Regions from separate parts of the Homo sapiens genome. Here region 2 is linked to region 1. Evidence: promoter capture Hi-C in 16 types of primary human blood cells and fetal thymus (Javierre and others, 2016). All regions are on one chromosome and are shown on one strand. Each heading gives the region's core, a stretch centred on a gene start or on the middle of the fragment in contact. The rest is flanking DNA. Distances are from core to core; before and after follow the strand shown. Region 1 holds the start of ANTXR1 (ANTXR cell adhesion molecule 1). Region 2 overlaps APLF (aprataxin and PNKP like factor).

Region 1 (2,699 bases), core at 117-2,616:
GTGCTTCATTGGTCAGAATTCAGCTCTCCCTTGAGCAAATCCTAAAGCCTAACCACTTTTTGCAAGGAAACCAGGGCTCCTGCACCTCCCTGGTAGCCCACCAGTCAAATGGCCAAGAGCTTGAATTCACTACATCTGGGGTACTCAAGTCGAAGGGGAGGGACATTTGGCAATGTCTGGAGGCATTTTTAGTTGTCACCACTAATAAGGAAGGAGTGGGGGGCGGGGGATGTTACTGGCATCCAGTGGGCAGAGGCCAAGGATGCTGCTAAACATCCTACAACGCGCAGGACAGCCCCCACCACAAAGAATTACCAGGTTTCAATCTCAGAAGTGCCAAGGTTAAGAAACCCTGCCTTTCATTCTCACTCAGTGCCCGGTGAGAAGTATGCATTACATGATTAGGAGCAAAGATAATGCCTTCCGTGGGACAGCGTTTCAAAACAAAACAAAAAAACAAAAACAAAAACAAAATGCGACGATTGGCTTTAAAATGCCCAAGCCTCTAACTTTAGGAGTGCCTGTGCCTGCAAGTTCTGCCTTTGGTAAGCAAGCCTTTCCCACCAACACGGGAGGGAGTCACAGAAACTCAGCAAGACAATAGCATCCTCCAAGCCCCTTGCCTGCTCCTGGGACACAGAAAGCAAGACAGAAAAGAAGTCTGTCCCCTTCCGAGCAAGCGGCGTCGCCTCGGCTGCGGGCTCTGGAGCCGAGGCTGGGAGGAGCGCGCCCCAACAAAGGCGCAGCACTCCGCCGCCGCCTGCCGCGCGGTCCCTCTGTGGCCCTGGAGATGCGCTCCTGTCCCCAGGCGACCCTGCCAACGAGCCCGGCCCGGGGCGAAAGCGTTTTCGCCCGCTTAGCCTGGGGTGGGGGGGACAACTCGCGGCACTTACTTGTCCAAAATGAAGTACAGGTCAAATCCGCCGTAGCAGGCTGGACCCCCATCCTCCCTGCGTCCCCCTTGCCCGGCGCAGATGAGCACCAGAGTGGCCAAAGAGAGCCACTGGAAGCCGATGCCGAGGGCTCTCCGCTCCGCCGTGGCCATGGCCCGCAGCCCGGGGAGAGCAGGGTCCGCTCCTTCCCACGCTCCGCGAACTCGCCACGACCCTCAGGGACGCGCCATCCGCGGGCCCTTCCTCGCGGGTCCTTTATTCCCCCTCGCTCCCTCGCAACTCCCCGGAAGCAATTGTCTGGAGGAGTTCAAGGTTTCCCCTCTGGTTTCCGCTCCGATGCTGTTTCTGGGTTTCGGGTTTCAAGGATCCCAATCCTGTCCTCCGCTTCTTTTAAAGGGGAGGGCTGCCTCGGTCCGGGGCCGCCGGGCAGCTCCCGAGGCCGCGCCGAGCTTTTGCAATGGAAGGAGTTCCGTCCCGACGGTTCTTTGTCCCAGATTTTAAATATGATGGGGGGGGGGGGGGGTTTCAAATTGTTCTTGGTGGGGGCAGTGCTTTGCCTTCTCTCCTTCCTCTCTGCCCCCCTTTCGCGTTCTTACGGGGAAGAAAGTTCAAAGGCTGCCACCTTGTGGACAAAGGCGGCGAAAGCACGCGTGGGACCCGCGGGAGTGCGTCGGGGGCGGGGGCGCTTCCAGGCTTCGCGTATAAATTTCCTTGTCCTTACCATTCTCATGTGAGCTGTGCGTGTTTTCTTACTCCTTCCTTCTTCCCACGCACTTTCCCTTTCTTTTTCCGTGACCGCCTCTCCATTCTCTGTAGTCCTTCTATTCCTTCTTTTCCTTCCCTATCCTGCATCTTTTGATAAGGTCACTAAACATTGGATGAGAATTTGTTTCCTCCAACCACGGTGACTCCGGCTCCCCAGGCTAGGACCTTTGCAAACAAACCATTGTGCAGATGAAGTAGGGGAAAAACGGGACCTTTGTGGTATGAGTCATCAGAGTGACCTTACATGGTCTTAGTCTGTCTGGACCATAAAAGAGACTGTTGGGGTCCGGTCTGAAACCATCACAAACAACCCCACAGAGTGTGGTACTTAGGGCTGCTCCCGGCATGGAACAGCTGAGCCTTCTAGATGGCCACCATCTCCATCTTTTAGGGATTCTATGATAATAGTTCTTCTTTTCAGCCTGTGAACTTTGACATTTTCTCTCTATCTTTGATTTAGGATGGAGGAAGTAAACAGCTTACAAGAGTAGAGACGCTCCAAGCAGTTTGGAATTGGCAGGGAAGTTCCGTGCTAGCCTCTCTAAATTGGAGAATCAGCCTCTGAGCCCCAGTTCCGAGTGGTACCCCAGTTCTAGCTTCCTATTGTCTTCCGCTCTGGGAGCCCTCAGTGCATATGCATGTACTGTTTTCCCAGGATTCTTCCTCCAGACACACATATTCCCCTCCACTTGTGTGCCTCCCAGACCCTTATACCCCAATGTGACAGTCCATGGTGGTTTCCCCCAACATGTGTACCATGGAATCTTAGTGTCTTGGAATGCTCCACTAACCAATAATCATGTTGTCAAATCAGCCTTGAAGATTTGTCATGCGTAGCACTGACCTGCCTCCAAAATGAACCCAGTGTTTCTCACCTCCTGGAATTCACACCCCTTCCACCTTGGGTGAGACTGACCTGTGAGTAATTAAGAAGATGGTGTGTGGCTTCTGAGGATAGGCCATGAGAGATGTTGTGGTTTTTCCCTTCTCTCTTGGATCACTCACTGTAGGAGAGCCCACTGCCATGTCGTGAGAACACAC
Region 2 (2,699 bases), core at 98-2,597, 520 kb after region 1:
GACTAGATATGAAATATATCATTCATTCAACAACTGTATATTGAAATGATTGTCCTCATTTAACAAATAATGAGATTAAAAAAACCTGCCCAAAGTCATGGAAGAGTCAACAACAGAGCCTCAAGCCTAGAATCTAACGGATCCCAAAACCTTGCATGATAGTTTCCATTCATGACAGACATCTACTGGGGATTCTTACCAAGAAAATTCATAAAATACGAAAAGTCTGTATATAATATGTACTTACCAGAAAACATTTCAAATACAAGAAACATATAGTATGTCATGATGATAAAGGTTTTAAAAGGAAGAGATCCCATGCTCGAGGATCTGGTAAGTGTAAAAGGGTCTGACTATAGGCTTTGGGGTCAAAGAGACCCAGATCAGGCAGAACTGCATGCAAACTCTGGGGCCATCAGCAGCAGTTAAGAGTTCAGGAAGGCAAGAAGGGGAATAGTGAAAACCAAACATTTTCAGTAAGAAATAAATTAGCATTTTTTAAAAATATCTATTTGCTTCCTGTTTTGAGCCAACAGTGTTCTACTTAGGCTCACAATCATTTCCACATACCAAAGTTCAAAAATTGTTTGCATGTTAAATGCTGACAGTGCCAATCAAAGCTTTCCCTTTTCACTGTAAATACAATAGTTAAGATTGCCTTTTTTATTTGTGGTTGATTGATAGATAATGAAAACATGTTAAGCACCAACTTCAATAACACCATAACTACCTGACCCATCTCTTGGTAACCTTGATATTCAGCACTTGAATGTTGGCATTATCCGCATAAGGACCAAAATTATCAGTAAAAAATAGACCATACCAACACATAAACTCAATTAAACCTATTAGTTCCACAAAAAATGTGAAACTGCCAGGAGTCAGTACTCATTTTTTTAACCAGATAGCTGTTCCACACTTAAGGCTGTAACATATAGACAGTAATATCAAGCATCGGAATGAGTATCACATGAATGAATTTTTCACAATCTATTGTTAGCCACAATGGCTATCCAAGAAGTAAGTACAAACTAATAATCTATTGTTTCAGAAAAAAAGAGGCTAAAAATTTAAAGATTCCTTTCTTTTTCCCAGATTGTACCTTTTTTTTTATTATTATACTTTAAGTTTTAGGGTACATGTGCACAATGTGCAGGTTAGTTACATATGTATACATGTGCCATGCTGGTGTGCTGTACCCAATAACTCGTCATTTAGCATTAGGTATATCAGATTGTACCTTAGTAGGCTAAAAACAACAGCAGTTATCTGATGACTCATTGCATCATTTGCACAGAACTTTCACTTAAATGTTGTGATTCAACATAACATTGCCATAGCTATTATTAACACTTTACATAGAAATTGAAAGTCCAGAGAATTTAGGTAACTTGGGTAGGTCACTCTCCAAGTAGGCAGCACTCCAAATCCACACTCCTTTTAATAAAAATAGGTAATAGGCAGGGTGTGGTGGCTGCAATCCCAGCACTTTGGGAGGCTGAAGTGGGAAGACTCCTTGAGCCCAGGAATTCAAGACTAGCCTGGGCAACACAGTGAGACCCCCATCTCTACATAAAGTAAAAAATTAGCTGGACAGAGGGCATGTGCCTATAGTCCCAAATATTAATACTTGGGAGGCTGAGGTATGAAGATTGCTTGAACCCAGGAGGTCAAGGTTGCAATGAGCCATGATCGTGCCACTGCATGCCAGCCTGGGGGACACGGTGAGACCCTGCCTCAAAAAAAAAAAAAAAAAAAGATAATAAATGTAGAACACATTTATACATGACTGTACCTACATGTAATCATTCAAAAGTAATTTCAAAAAATGCGGCTGAGAGTAAGCAGTTCCTATTTCTGACTTGGGTACCAAAATCTCATTGTTACTTCCATACTACGAACCAATTTTCTAACCAACAGAGTAATAAGCTATCAAATATAAAACTATGGCATATAAAGCTGGTTCCTTTAACAGTCCATCTTAAATTTCTTTCTTTCCTTTTTTAAACTGTATTTTTTCAGGAAGCAATACATGAACTTTTCCTATCTCTGTCTTTCTTTGAAGTAAGCTTCACTGACACTACGAAGATAAAAGACATTTTAAGTAATATAAAAGTATAATGTGACCTCTAGTGGACACATAACTCCACAACAGTGTAATTTCATTACAAGCTATGTGTCTTTATAGAATACAAAAAGAATGCTATAAACAATCTTTGAAATTAACATCACTCAGACATTTATAGTGTTCCTTTTAAAGTAAAACCCTAAATAGTGAATACACAATAAAATAACCATTTGCACTTTCTCAATGGGAAGCATAAAGGTTTAATAAATTATCATTAAAACATTTTAATGTCACGATTGATATACGGAGAGGGGTGGGGAGCAAGTGACAAACAGATTATCCTAAAGATCTGATGATCTGCTTTATTTAACAGCCTATCACTGCTCCTTATACAGAGTGAATATCCAACACATTTTTATTATTTATTAATACATCAACTGTAATAACAATCAATTATCAACACCAAAGCACCATTCTAGACTTGTCATGTATCATCTTTTTCAGTCTTCACAAAATCTGTGAAGATACTATTATTATACTTCACTTCATAGGTGAGAAAATGGAAGTACAGAGAGTTTAAGCAACTACTCAGTTACACAACCAATAAGTAGTAGGGCCAGGATCTGAACCT

Evidence for each region. Contacts are between HindIII fragments. The CHiCAGO score rates a contact against its expected background, and 5 or more counts as called.
Region 2: a fragment that was not itself captured here is called in contact with the fragment with the promoter of ANTXR1 in region 1 in 8 of 17 cell types (naive CD8 T cells, fetal thymus, megakaryocytes and 5 more); the score reaches 7.1 in naive CD8 T cells.

Annotation. Positions count from the first base shown.
Region 1 is chr2:69,011,846-69,014,544 of GRCh38, reverse strand. ANTXR1 (ANTXR cell adhesion molecule 1) reads right to left here and starts at 1,366. Exons shown (of 18, transcript NM_032208.3): 1 at 894-1,366. The coding sequence starts at 1,045. The HindIII fragment of the contact is 7,309 bases long and covers 1-2,699 here.
Region 2 is chr2:68,487,389-68,490,087 of GRCh38, reverse strand. The region is part of intron 1 of APLF (aprataxin and PNKP like factor); the gene reads right to left. Among named protein-coding and RNA genes, the nearest start is that of APLF, 21 kb to the right of the region's middle. The HindIII fragment of the contact is 1,449 bases long and covers 623-2,071 here.